3 separate regions of the Homo sapiens genome follow, and all the other regions are linked to region 2. Evidence: promoter capture Hi-C in 16 types of primary human blood cells and fetal thymus (Javierre and others, 2016). All regions are on one chromosome and are shown on one strand. Each heading gives the region's core, a stretch centred on a gene start or on the middle of the fragment in contact. The rest is flanking DNA. Distances are from core to core; before and after follow the strand shown.

What was found. Contacts are between HindIII fragments. The CHiCAGO score rates a contact against its expected background, and 5 or more counts as called.
Region 1: a contact is called between the fragment with the promoter of SLC17A9 here and the fragment with the promoter of RPS21 in region 2, in 1 of 17 cell types (neutrophils). The highest score is 5.8, in neutrophils.
Region 3: a contact is called between the fragment with the promoter of BHLHE23 here and the fragment with the promoter of RPS21 in region 2, in 5 of 17 cell types (non-activated CD4 T cells, total CD4 T cells, activated CD4 T cells and 2 more). The highest score is 8.5, in non-activated CD4 T cells.

The regions. Positions count from the first base shown.
Region 1 is chr20:62,949,923-62,954,190 of GRCh38, forward strand. SLC17A9 (solute carrier family 17 member 9) reads left to right here and starts at 2,787. Exons shown (of 13, transcript NM_022082.4): 1 at 2,787-2,967. The coding sequence starts at 2,909. RefSeq lists an enhancer at 2,197-3,026 and silencers at 2,578-2,897, 2,908-3,007. The HindIII fragment of the contact is 6,510 bases long and covers 1-4,268 here.
Region 2 is chr20:62,383,370-62,388,352 of GRCh38, forward strand. RPS21 (ribosomal protein S21) reads left to right here and starts at 3,734. Exons shown (of 6, transcript NM_001024.4): 1 at 3,734-3,767; 2 at 3,952-4,019; 3 at 4,242-4,305; 4 at 4,474-4,545; 5 at 4,940-4,983. The coding sequence starts at 3,970. It overlaps RPS21-DT (RPS21 divergent transcript), which reads right to left and starts at 3,620. Exons shown (of 1, transcript NR_186459.1): 1 at 2,934-3,620. RefSeq lists enhancers at 2,872-2,921, 3,200-3,891, 3,892-4,583 and silencers at 3,272-3,391, 3,822-4,011. The HindIII fragment of the contact is 6,470 bases long and covers 1-4,983 here.
Region 3 is chr20:63,003,805-63,008,446 of GRCh38, forward strand. BHLHE23 (basic helix-loop-helix family member e23) reads right to left here and starts at 3,160. Exons shown (of 1, transcript NM_080606.4): 1 at 2,123-3,160. The coding sequence starts at 2,970. The coding sequence ends at 2,245. RefSeq lists enhancers at 41-554, 2,879-3,584, 3,585-4,292. The HindIII fragment of the contact is 10,733 bases long and covers 1-4,642 here.

The sequences.
Region 1 (4,268 bases), core at 1,537-4,036, 570 kb after region 2:
GTGGGTTTCCTCATGTTTGTAAATGCAGGTCACGTTGCAGGCTCTTCCGCCAGCTGTCCGTCCATGCAAGGCAGTTGGTCACCCCGCAGGCTCACTTCGGAGATGAAGAGTGCTGGGTGCAGCAGCGCCTCCTGTCCTTGGGTCTCTGTGTATTTGAGGTGGAATTGATGAGCTTGGGAACCAGGGAGAAGCGGTGGAGCTGCTGTTGCCTTGAGCTGCCCGTGTCAGGCAAGGTCTCCGCCTGGCTGTGACTTCTGCTTCCTGGAGACACATCTGTAGGCGTTCCTCACACAAACAAGGTTTTCTCCCTCTTGTGGATCACGGTGTGTGACTGACAGCTTTGGTAATTTTCCCAGCTGGCTTTGAAAGTGAAGCAGGCTGACCCGTCACCAAGAATTCTCTGCCATGGAGGGTCATGGAAGAACGGGAAGAGGTGCTGGCGGTCACAGCAGCCCAGGGTTCGTCTGTGCTCGTTTATAGATTTGTGTGCCCATCCAGTCCTCACTGGGCCCTCCCAGTTTTAGAAATGTTGAACACTAGTGCTTGTAAGATTCGAACAATGAGTTTACCAGCTCTGAGAAAAATGAACTGCTCCAGAACCTTCAAGAATGTTTCTCTGTATCACGCCCACATCACACCGAATCCATTTGTCGTCATTGCAGAGTTCATCTTTCTGGTTTTGAGCACCATCTCACACAGTTCTTTGTCTTTTTCCAGTCTGCTGTTGACTGGGTTAGCTCAGCCCGAAAGGTGCCCCCACCTTTGAGGCAGTTCCCGCACGTGATGTCCAGTACCGCGGTCTTCCCTCTTGCTGCTGCCTGTCAGTCATGGCAGAGGAAAGTGTCATCTGTCAGTCTCCTTTTCATGGACTCCTCATCTTGAGAATTGTAGTTGGGCTGGAAGGTTGCAGGGCTAAGTGGGGTGCAGGGAGGAGCCCCAGGCCCAGGGCTGGCTTGTCTTGGTTTACAAGAAGCTGTGCGGGGTCTCCTGGGGCGTCTGTGGGGGGTGTGGATGCAGAGGCTGAGCAACGGGCGCCATACGTAGTGAGGTGTGGATTTGCTTTAGGAAAATCTCTAGCATCGTCTCCCTATAGCAGCACTTGAAATAAACAAGAAGTTAGGTGGGCCAGGCCCAACAAGAGGGAGGCACGCAGCCTTCCAGAAGCAGAGGCCAGTGGGTGCTGGCTGTGACTGCCCTGTCCGCAAGGTCACCCTGTGTCCTTGAAAACCCAGGTGTTGACTGTCTATTGTCCCTACATAATTTTTCACCTTAGGCCTCAAAGATGCTTGGGTGCGGGGCAGCTCTCAGAATCCACCAGAAGCGTGGAGAGCCTCCATCTGGCCACTACCAGCACCCAGCTTTATAATGTCCCTGTGAGATGGCCCCTTCACCCACCCAGCCATCCCTGCATGGCCCGTTTCTTCAGCTCATCCAGCCTTCACTCAGGTGTCCAGGGGTGCCTCCTCAGCCCAACCTATTTGAAGTAACACCCCTTCCCTACCCCTTTCACTACTTTGATTTTTGTCTACCTGCCCCAGAACATCAGCTCCAGGAGGAAGGGGACTTTGGGTAACCAGATGGCAAATGTCTGCTGCAGCATGATCACAGATCTCGGTAGGAAATCACCATCACAGAGTGAATGGAAGCGAATCACCTCAAAGAGGGTGCTGTTGACAGCGATACGTTTAGCAACAGTTTCCAAACTTCCTGGCTATGGGCTAGGGCTGTTTGGGGCAATAAACCTCTCTCTGCCACCATCTTTTCACCTACCCTACGTCAGGATGGATGAAAGTATGACCTTGCTTTTCAGGGTGCCCGTGTCTTTCTGTTCAGAGGGCCCTGGGAGCAGGCCCTGCAGTGCAGTGGGTTGGGCTGTTGGAGACCTGAGGGCTAGGGGGAGGGAGGGGGTAAATGTGGGTCTGTTCTAAGTGCAAGGCCCTGCCTTAGACGTGTCTCCCTCGGCCCCTGGGTGGTGGCTGCTGCGTGGAGGATGGACTGAGGTGGGCCCTAGTGGAGGTGGGGGCAACGCCTGAGGAGCAGGCCCTGCCGCCTCCTGGGGAAAGGCTGCATGGTTGAGGCCTTCCCCTGCTGGCTTCATCCTTGGCATGGCAGCAGGAGCACACAGAGTGGGGGCCCCACCCCGTCACCCCTGCCCCCGAGCCCAGAACCTGGCCTGTGATGGGTCCTCAGGACACCTTTTGTCCAGGAACCCAGGGGCCAATGACAACCTTCACAGGCATCTGCTGAGAAGACATGGGCCAGCGCTGGATTTGTCCAGCTCTCCCAGGCTTGGTCCAAGGGCTCAGGAGTGGACCCATCCCTGCCCCGAAAGATCCATTTTAAAAATCAGTGACCCTGTACTTTTACTCTCTTTGCACTTGGTTAAGACTTTATCCCTGATTTTATTTGATCGGTAAGGCAGGGACTGCCATCATTCCCCATTTTATAGACAGAGGACAGACGGCCCCATGGCTCCGTGTCGTGTCCAAGGGATGGGCTGGCACCTCTTGGACCAGGCTTACCACCAGGGCCCTTCTCTGAAGCCCCAGTCTGACCGGCCTGCTGCTGGGAATCCCCCTCTGCCCCCACACTAACCTCTGCTGGGGCTGAGCCAGGGCGCGTCGGACAGTCAGGGCGACCCAGCCAGGGCGACCGTTGGCCCCGCTCCTATGGGGCAGCAGGGACCGACGTCAGCAGGGTGGGGCGGGCACCCGAGTGGTATGCCCCGCCCTGCCCCGCCTGCCCGCCCTGGTGGCCGTCTGGGGGCGACAAGTCCTGAGAGAACCAGACGGAAGCGCGCTGGGACTGACACGTGGACTTGGGCGGTGCTGCCCGGGTGGGTCAGCCTGGGCTGGGAGGCAGCCCCGGGACACAGCTGTGCCCACGCCGTCTGAGCACCCCAAGCCCGATGCAGCCACCCCCAGACGAGGCCCGCAGGGACATGGCCGGGGACACCCAGTGGTCCAGGTGTGGCGGGGGTGAGGGGAGGGGGGGTGGGAGCGGTGGAGATGGGGCCGTGGGGAGGGAGCTGAGATACTGCCACGTGGGACGATGCTAGGTGGGGAGGGCTGAGCTGGGCGGGCTCCTCTGGCTGTGGGGCCCCCTGTGTTCCTTGTGGGAGGTGGAAGGAAGTGAGTGCCCTGTCCTTCCTCCCTGCCATGAGATTCCAGGACCGGACCTGGCAAGTGCCCTATCCCAGCCAGTGTTCCTGGGGCTCTTCCAGGCAGGGCTATGTTCCCCAGGCCAGGGGCATTGTCCTGGACAGTCAGGAGGCATACCCCTCGCCAGGTGGAACCACCCTGTGTATGCATGACCCTGACAAGCAGGCGCCAGGACAGTCAGGAGGCCAGGTAGGGGGCACGGGCTGGAGCCTGCAGCTGGACGGGGTTGGGGGGGGTCCTGCCACCACGTGCCAGCTGTGTGCTGAGGACGAGCTCCCCGCTGGCTTCAGCTCTCGGAGCATTTGGTGGTGGGGAGAAGCAGGGCCTGGGCAGGTCGCCTGGCCACCAGCACTGCTGCCTGTAGGAGGCTCCCTGGGCAGGTGACGCCTCAGAAACCGGGCGAGATGGTGACCGCGGGCCATTGGTCAGCTGGGGAGGGCCTCTGCCAGGGAGCTCCTGAGAGCAGCCCCCACACTGCTGAACCCCTTGGCTCTGGGTCTTGGGCTGAGGCCTTAAGTGGCTGGACCCTGGGCCTAGACTCAGGCCCTGTGGGTTCCAGAGCAGTCTCCTGCCTGCACTGAGTCCCCAGGGTACCTACCCTGACCATGGCAAGGTAATGGCACCTTCTGGCCCCACCAGTTCCCAGCTGTATGAGGGCTGAGGACCCTAGAAGTGCTGGGAAGAGTTGTAGGAAGGCCCAAAGGGGCAGTGCCACCATCGGATGTTGGCACCCAGATGAAGGGAGCGCTGGCTGCATGGGAAAAGCTGGCAGCCCAGATCACAGCCCTGTCAGGCGCCAATTAGAGGGGAGGGCTGCCCTCAGCGGGCCCTGCCCCTTGCTCTCTTCCTCTTCCCCCACCCACGTTCATCCAGGCCTGCCGGGCAGGGCCAGCTCCCCAGGGATTCAGGGCCTCCTCACTGGCGGCTGGTTTGAGTGGCTCCGCCTTCACTACGTCCCTCCCAGGCTCGATGTTTAAAAAGGAGCCCTTGCCGCAGCCTTCACTACGTCCCTCCCAGGCTCGATGTTTAAAAAGGAGCCCTTGCCGCAGCCTTCACTACGTCCCTCCCAGGCTCGATGTTTAAAAAGGAGCCCTTGCCACAGCTCTT
Region 2 (4,983 bases), core at 2,484-4,983:
GCTCACTGCAAACCTCCGCCTCCCAGGTTCACGCCATTCTCCTGCCTCAGCCTCCTGAGTAGCTGGGACTACAGGAGCCCGCCACCATGCCCGGCTAATTTTTTGTATTTTTAGTAGAGACGGGGTTTCACCATGTTAGCCAGGATGATCTCGATCTCCTGACCTTGTGATCCACCTGCCTTGGCCTCCCAAAGTGCTGGGATTACAGGCATGAGCCACCGCACCTGGCCAATGTTTTGACTTTTATATGCAACTGTGAAACCATTGCCATCATCAAGACAGCATATACCTCCCATCACTCCCCGCGTTTCCTGTGTGTGTCTGTAATCCCATCATCAAGACAGCATATACCTCCCATCACTCCCTGCGTTTCCTGTGTGCGTCTGTAATCCCACTTGCTCACCACCCCACCCCAGGCAACCACCAACATGATTCCTGTCAGTTTTGATTGGTTTGCATTTTCTAGAGTTTATACAAATAAAATCACACAGTATGCTGTCTTTCGAGGGGGACGTACCATTATTTATCCATCTGCCTGTTGGTGTATGTGTGGATTGTTTCCATTTTTGGCTATGACACATAAAGCCTCGATGAACATTTCAGTACCAGTCTCCGAATGGACATATGTTTTCTTTCCTTTTTTTTTTTTTTTTTGAGACGGAGTCTCGCTCTGTCGCCCGGGCTAGAGTGCAGTGGCGAGATCTCGGCTCACTGCAACCTCTGCCCAACGGGTTCAAGTGATTCTCCTGCCTCAGCCTCTCCAGTAGCTGGGATTACAGGCGTGCACCATCAGGCCCAGCTAATTTTTGTATTTTTAGTACAGACAGGGTTTTGCCATGTTGGCCAGGTTGGTCTCCAACTCCTGACCTCAGGTGACCCACCCGCCTTGGCTTCCCAAAGTGCTGGGATTACAGGAGTGAGCCACTGCACCCAGCCTGGATACAGGTCTTTTATCAGATACAGGTTTTGAAAATATTTTCTGCCAGTCTGTGGCTTTCTTTCTTTCCTTCCTTTCTCTCTCTTTTTTTTTCTGGGTCTCCTGTCACCCAGGCTGGAGTTCTGTGGCATGATCATGGCTCATTGTAGCCTCCACCTCCTGGCTCAACTGATCCTCCCACCTCGGCCTCCTGAGCATCTGAGACTACAGACACACACCACTACATCCGGCCAATTTTTAAATTTTTTTGTAGAGGGGTTTCACCATGTTGCCCAGGCTGGCTGGCCTCAGACTCCTGAGGTCAAGCAATTGCCTGCCTCAGCCTCCCACAGTGCTAGGGTTACAGGCATGAGCCATCACTCCTGGCCTCTAATCTGCTTTTTTTGATGTGTCTTTGTCTGATTTGGGTATCAGGATAATACCGGCCTCATAAAATGATTGGAAGCATTCCCTCCTCCTCTATTTTTTGGAATAGTTTCAGTAGGATTGGTATTAGTTCTTTAAAAAATGTTTGGTAGGCCAGGTGTAGTGGCTCACGCCTGTAATCCCAGCACTTTGGGAGGCCAAGGCGGGCAGATCACGAGGTCAGGAGTTAAAGACCAGCCTGGCCAACATGGTGAAACCCCATCTCTACTAAAAATACAAAAATTAGCCAGGCGTGGTAGCAGACCCCTGTAATCCCAGCTACTCTGGAGGCTGAGGCAGGAGAATCGCTTGAACCTGGGAGGTGGAGGTTGCAGTGAGCCAAGACCGCACCACTGCACTCCAGCCTGGGAGACAGAGCAAGACTCCGTCTCAAACAAACAAACAAACAAACAAACAAACAAACAAAAACTAAGAATAGAGCTGCCATAAATAAAGCAATCCCACTGCTGGGCATATACCCAAAAGAAAGGAAATCAGTATATGAAAGAGATACCTGGCCGGGTGTGGTGGCTCATGCCTGTAGTCCCAGCTACTGAGGAGGCTGAGGCAGGAGAATCACTTGAACTCTGGGGGCAGAAGTTGCAGTGAGCCGAGATCGCACCACTGCACTCCAGCCTGGGTGACAGAGCGAGACTTTGTCTCAAAAAAAAAAGAAAGAAAGGAAGAGATACATGTGCTACGATGTTTATCACAGCACTATTATTTGTGGGAGCTAAAAATTAAAACAATTGAATTTGTGGAGACAGACAGTAGAAAGATGGTTACCAGAGGCTGGGAAGGGTAGAACAGTGGGAGGAGGGGGGCAAATGGGGATGGTTAATGGGTATAAAAAGACAGAAAGAATAAGACCTAGTGTTTGATAGCACAACAGGGTGTCTACAGTCAATAATGATTTAATTGCACATTTTAAAATGACTAAAAGAGTATAGTATTGGATTATTTGTAACGCAAAGGATAAATGCTTGAGGTGATGGATGCTCCATATACCCCATGTGATTACTACGCACTGCATGCCGGTATGAAAATATCTCATGTGCCCCATAAATGTACACACCCACTATGTACCCAAAAAATTAAACATAAAAAAACTTTTTTTTTTTGAGACGCAGTCTTGCTCTGTCGCCCAGGCTGGAGTGCAGTGGCGGGATCTCAGCTCACTACAAGCTCCGCCTCCCGGGTTCACGCCATTCTCCTGCCTCAGCCTTCCGAGTAGCTGGGACTACAGGCGCCTGCCACCACGCCCAGCTAATTTTTTGTATTTTTAGTAGAGATGGGGTTTCACCATGTTGGCCAGACGGGTCTCGAACTCCTGACCTCAGGTGATCCACCCACCTCCGCCCAAAGCGCTGGGATTACAGGCCTGAGCCACCGCACCTGGCCACTGAGTCTTAAGTTTTCTGAGGCTAGTTCTACATCCTAGGATCATGTCCCCCGCCCAGAGAAGACCCCAACATAGGCCGCGCTGCTCCCTCCGTCTACCGGTTTGGAGCTTCTCCTGGCAACAGGGTTCAGGCTACTAACAAGGCCTTCCTCAAGACCCCACCCATAACCAACGACCATACTTCGTGGGTCCATCTTTGTAACATCTTTACTTCCTTGGAGCAAATTCCCAGGAATGGGTTTTCGGGGTCCAAGGGTATGCACCTCTAGCACTACGACAAACGCGGCCAACACGCTTCAGGGAAACGGTGCCCCAGTTTGCATTCTGCTTCCCCTGCCCTGCCCTGGGGGTCTGACTGGTGAAACATGGGATGGCAGAGTGGTCGGGTGTTTCAGATTCCACGGTGGGCCGGGGTCTTTTCCTACCCTCGGGAGCCGTCTGAATTTCTCCTCTGCCGAGTTCCTGCGGGTGTCCTTCGCCCACCGGCCCGGGGGAGTGAGTAGCAGGCACCAGGTGAGCAGGCCTCCGCTCGCAGCGGCTACGTGCACGGGCAGGAGCACCGCCCCACGCCCCAGGTGGCCGCAGGGTGAGGGGACCGGAGGGCGGGAGGCGCACAATGGGGGGCACGCCCGTATCTCTAGCCCGGCCGGCAGCGGGCAGCGAGGCTCAGTCCTCGCCCCTTCTCCCAGCTGCTATTCGGGGCTCCCGAGGCGCTCAGAGGGGTCGACTGCGTCCGTGGGGCACAACCCAGGGGCCAGGCTAAGACGCCACACACGGCAACGACCCTCAACGACAACGACCCCCACGACGCCCCGCGCCCCAGGGCCAGCAGGCTGGGGTCCGAGAACCTCCTTGCCGGAAGCGGAAGTGCGTCACGGCGACGGCCGGCAAGCACGCACCGCGCAGACTCGCTGTGGTGGCGTGACCCGGAAGCGCTCGCCGAGGCCCCTCCTTGCCCGCCGATATCTCTGCCGGGTGACTAGCTGCTTCCTTTCTCTCTCGCGCGCGGTGTGGTGGCAGCAGGTGTGGCGCGCGGCGCGGGCTTCGGGCTCAGGGCTGGGGCTGGGGCGGGAGTGGGGGCTTGGACGCGGGGGACGGGGTGCGGGGTGCTGGGTGCGGCTGGGGCCGTGACCCTAGGGGCCGGTTTGCGCCGGGAGCCGGGGCACGGTTCCGGCCGTACTCACGGCGCCGCGCGGTGACTCCCCAGGCGCAGCCCAGCCTCGAAATGCAGAACGACGCCGGCGAGTTCGTGGACCTGTACGTGCCGCGGAAATGGTAAGCGCCCCCCACATGCCTCTCTTCCGTCCTTACCTAACCACCACGTCCCCTCGCCTGCCCTTGTTCCCCCACACCCCTCCCGTCCTTACCTCGTCACGTCCCTAACTTGTCCTGCCCCCGACGTTACTCTTTTCCATTCATATACCCCCAACCTCCCTCGTCCCCTCTTTCATTCTTACCGCCCAAGTCCCCTCTGCTCACTGCGCCCTTTCTCCACAGCTCCGCTAGCAATCGCATCATCGGTGCCAAGGACCACGCATCCATCCAGATGAACGTGGCCGAGGTGAGCTGGGAGCCCGGGAGGCGGGAAGGTTGTGATATATGTGCGGGAAAGGCAGGCTGTCCCATTGTGGAGGAGCCCCTGGGGTGAAGGTACAGGCAGAGGCTGGCTTTGAGGATTGGTGTTTCCCAAACCTGGGGGAGTGGTTTGTGACCCTTCTTCTCTTTCTAGGTTGACAAGGTCACAGGCAGGTTTAATGGCCAGTTTAAAACTTATGCTATCTGCGGGGCCATTCGTAGGATGGTGAGTGTTTCCCTGGGCTTTGCTCATCACTTCGGGACATCGTGGACTTTACCGTGCGCATTGGAGTGTGTGATGGTGCCTGAGTAGATCTGCTGGCAGAGTAGTTTGAGCCAGCTGGACTGGGCTGGCCGCCTGCCGCTTCTTGAGGGTGGAAGAGGGGTGCTCTGAGAAGACACTCAGGCAGCAGACTCTGCCTCTCACTAGGAGGTGCCCCCCCGACCCCGCTCCACCATAGTCAGGCTGCAGGCTGCCCCGGGAGAGGTGGCTCCCCTTCTGCGCCTGTCTCCATTCGCTCAGCGGGGGAGAGACGTGGGCTGGTGGCACAGCTGACCTTCTGCCATCTCAGGCAGCCGGAGTGGAAATATTCTTAGTGTGCTTTTTTTTTTTTCTTAAGGGTGAGTCAGATGATTCCATTCTCCGATTGGCCAAGGCCGATGG
Region 3 (4,642 bases), core at 1,910-4,409, 620 kb after region 2:
GTCAGAGAAAAGACGAGCAGCCCCCCACGTTTCTCGGGAGCCACGGGCTTGCACAGGCACCCACGTGGGTTCTGCTTTGCTGTTTGCCAGATGTGGGCACACAGGCCGTGGAGGGCTGTCTTGGAATGAGAAGATCCTTGGGCAAATCTGAGAAAGGCCAGATGACACTGTGATTGCCCAGGTGGCTTCGCGAGCAGCCACTGCAGAGAAGGCGAGCTAATTCTCCGAAACACTCCACTCCACTCAGGCCAAGTGAGAAGCATGCAGACGTTTGTAGAACAGTAGACACACAGCTTTGTCATGTACAAAAAAGTTTAAATGTAACTTGAATTTTTATTTAAATTAAGTAATCGGAAGAATTTTTGATTAGTGAAGTGGTTTTTTCAAAAACTTATTCTCCACCCAAAGAGAGAAAGAGAGATTTTTTTCCTCTGCCCTTTTCCTTATGATTTCACACATGTGCTATAATAAGTGGTTGCTTTTAGATGAGTTTTAGCATCTCAGAGACTCTTCAGACTCTGGTTTCGAGTGGACACAAGTATCTGAAAATTGAAATTATTGTGAATTCAGCTACAAATGAACACTATTTCACTTGATATTAAAATTTAACCATATTATTTTTATAAAATAAATGGCAATAAAATGCTTTATTCTGAATATAAATGATGTACCAATGTCTCTGATTTTAACCAGAATAAACACCCCTGTTTCAAATTCTGATAAGCAGGTAATTTATTTAAGATCACGTTGAAATGACCCTAGAAGTGAAGGGCATTTGAGTTTCCAGCTTTCCCACTTTATCTAAAAGGGGAAAAACGGTGTCTGGCACTCAGCTTTTCGAATGTGCAAAACTGATAAACTAGTCTGTTAGGGGAAAAAAAAAAGACAATGAAGAAATAAAAGTGGAAATTAGCAGAAACCAGTATTAGGCATATGTCTTTATGAATAAGACTTAACCATACACTTGATTTTGCAAGTACAGAAGGCCCTGTGGAATGTATTAATCAGAGTTAAACGCTGTAGACAGGCGCGTTGCAGGGCGGCGGCCCTCTCCCCTTGGCATTACCGACAGCCGAGGAAATTGGGTTAATAAAGCCGGATACTGCGGCGGGGCCGCGGGGCGCAAACCGGCGCGGACAGATGGGTCCCCGGGGGCACCCTGCCCGGCTCCCTGGATCCCGGATGGTGGCAGAGCTGGGAGCTGCGCAGGACGGGCACTGCGCAGCGCATCTCCGTTCACACCCGGCGGGGCACGGGGCCCGCAGCAGCTTACTCACCCGTAGCCCGGCCTCCTCCCTCGGAAGGGAGAGGGGATCGGTGGGGAGGGGGTTTGCTGGACACCAGGGCTAGACGGGGCCCTCCCCTGACCGTCAGGGTTAAGTAGGGCGCGGGCTGTGAGGACCCTCCTCCACGCAGCCCCCCGAGGCAGAGGGCCCGCAAAGCGGTCTCCATCCAACTCCACCCCGCGGACGTCCCAGGCAGCGGATGGCGGCGGGGGGGGGAGGCCAGGGGACATTTAGGGGACAAATTCCTCAGACTTCGAGGCAGCCGGCGACGGCGTCCAATTCCCAAATAAATAGAACAAACTCCTACTTGGAAAAGGCCTTCCCCGGGGTCTTCCTGCGCCCGCGGTCCAGCTCCTCTGCAGACGGCCATCGTGGGCTCTCCGCAGGGCTGCGGAGTCTCGGAGTCACCGAGGTGGGAGGTGCCGGCCACGCGCGTCCTCAGGAACAGAGCACTGCCCTGCAGTTTAGCACGAAGGGCCGGCTGGAGCGGGAGCGCGAGGCCCACTGCAAGAGGATCAGGAGCCAGTAAGTCCGGCTTTTCTTCGTCTCCACCTTTCGTGCGCCCGGGGCCAGGACCGCCTGTCCGGAATCTGACCAGTGCCCGTCCTCGCCGTGGCCCTGGGACCCCGCGGTGGTCTTCTTTTGGGGACGAACGGCAGTGCCCGAAGGATGCTCTACCCACCCCCGTTCCTAGACTTGCTGGGTCCCGACAATACCCAGTGGGTGCCGCGAGTTCCCGGGCGCAGAGTCCAGCGTCCGGCTCTCGAGCTCAATCCCGCGCCCCGACGGCCTTGGCGCTTCCCGCTGCGCTAAACTGTCCACCGCGCACAGGCTGGAAGCGAAGTCGGGCCCCCTCCTCCTGGTCTGCAGGGTCCCTCCAGGCCTTTCCTGTCCGGGCAGAGAGACAGTCACAGGGGCGATCGGAGGACGCGTGCGGGAGGGCCGGGGGCCCGCGCGGTCACGGCTTCTCGTGACAGTGTTTGCAAAGCGCGGAGGGCGTCCCGGAGAAGGCGGCGCACTTGTCAGGGCAGGGCCCCAGGGCGGCGCCTGCGGAGAAGGGGCACACAGTGGCCTGGCCGAAGGGCGTCAAGGGCGCGGCGTTTACGGGCGCGGCCAGGCCCTGGCCCTGGTTGAGGAAGGCCACCAGGCGCCGCATCTCGTCCAGGGCCTGCGCCTGCATGAGGATATAGTTCTTGGCGAGCAGCAGCGTGGCGATCTTGGAGAGCTTGCGCACCGACGGGCTGTGCGCGTAGGGGATGACGGCTCGCAGCCCGTCCAGCGCGTCGTTTAGGTCGTGCATGCGCCGCCGCTCGCGCGCGTTGATGCTGAGCCGCAGAGACCGCTGCTCTCGCGGCCGCCGCCGCCCGTCCGCCGCGCTCCCTGGCCCGCGCCGCCGCCGCCGCTGCTCGAAGGCGTCGTCCTCGTCCCCGCTCTGTTCGCCGCTGCTCTCCGCCGCCTGAGCTGGGGCGCGAGGTGCAGGCGCCGCGGGGAGGTCGCCGCCCGGGCCCGGAGTGCCGTAGCCGCGGGCCGCTTCGGGTTCTCGCGCCGCCCCGTAGGCGAGACCCGCAGCCGCCGCCGCGTAGCCGTGGCTTAGTGCCAGGTACGCGTCCCCCGACAGCGACTTGAGCTCGGCCATGGCCGCGCCGCCTGGGCTCGGGGGCTCGCCGGGTGGGCGGATGCTCATGTGGGTGAGCAGCCCCCGAGGCCGGCCCGAGCCCGCCGCTGCCGCTGCCGCTGCGATGAGGCTCCCGGCTCTGCGCGTCGGTCTGGCTTGCCTGCGGGTCCCAGAGCCTCGGCGCCCGCTGCCTCCTCCGCCTCTTCCTTCTCTCCCACCTCCTCTCCCTCCCAGCCGCGACGCGCAGGGGGCGGGCTCTACCTCCCCCTCGCCCCCGCTTCGGTTTTAAGCCGCGGAGGCGCCCGGTGGGACCTCGCTGCTGTCCAATCAGGGGGGACCGGGTGAGCTCCTCTTCCTGGAGCCGGGCTCCACCAGCGCCGCAGGCTCACAGGCCGGGGGTGGGGGCTCTGGACCGAGGGGCGGCGCGGGGCGGCGCGGGGCGGCGCGCGCGGTCCTGGAGCGCTAGTACTTGCTTCTCGACTCCCCGGCCGCCGCCTCCGGCCGCCCCGGGGATTCCGCCACCAAACGCACGCGTCCCAGGTGGGCACCCGCCTCGGTCCGTCTTTGAGTCTGACCCTAGCGCAAGAGTCCCTGGCGACACGCAGGGGCCAGAGCGGGGGGGCGCGCCGCAATAGCAGCAGCGCCAGCGCCAACACCCTGTCCCGCTGAGGGGCCGCTTCGGGTCGGGGTCAGGGTCGTGGGCGCTCTGGTGCAGCCGCGGCGCAGCGTGTACCCGGAGCCCGCACACTCCCTGCTCGGGGCGCCCTGTGGCCAGGCTTGAGGGGCAGAGTGAGAGGGAGTTTCTAGAACCTGTTGAAAAACGCCACGAGCGTTGCAGGCCGGGGAGGGCGGGAAGGTGGAGGGCAGCGCGGCCTGGGGCTCCCCGGGGGTGGGAGGGGAGCTCTGTGAGCTGCAGGACCGCCTCTTCCCTGCCAGCCGCTTCCTGGGCATCTATCAGCGAAACGCGTGAGGCTTGGTGGGCTTTCCCGGAGCCTCCGAACCCCTGGGGTCCAGCCACACTGGATGGGAATGTGGCCAGCCTCGGACTCGCCTTTTCAGTCCTCTTCCAACCCCGCATGAAGGCCAGAACCCCAGCCCTTCTCCCAGGTGGGAACCTGCCTGGAGGCCCGGCCGAGTGCTGAGGCTAGAGTGTGCTGAGGGATAGTGGCTTCTCCGGTCCTGGCTTGGGTGGGAGACTGGGCCACCCTGGCCTATGGCACGAGGTGGAGCGGCCCGTCGGGCCCTTCTGTGTGACCTGGGAAGGGCCGCATACCCTCCCTGTTCTCCAGGCTCCGCCCCAGGAGGAGCCACAGCGATGGGGCAGTGTGCGCAGCCCCGGGAGGGGAGTGGGAGCTGCACGTGTGTGGGGCGGATGTGCTGTCTGGAAGGTTCTGGGAACGCAGCAGTGACCGGCCTGTCCGGTGGTTCCCTGCCAGGTGCGGGGTGTGAGGAGACAGATGCATGGATAAGTCTCCGTGGGAAACTCAGGCCTTTGTCCTGGCGGAGGGGAATGGGTCTGAGGCAGCCTCTGCCGGGCTGGCGGCCTGTCTGGCTGCGCGTCCTGCAGCACCGGCCTCACCCCCAGCACACGCCCGCCAGGAGCGCAGGGGCCCCGAGGATGGAAGCGTCTGTCTGAGGCGCTGTCCTGGGACCCCACCCCGCCTTCGGGGCTGATGCACAGACCGGGAATTGAGGATACCTGGTGTGGAGGAGGCCGCTGTGTTTGGGCCTGGGTCTGAAG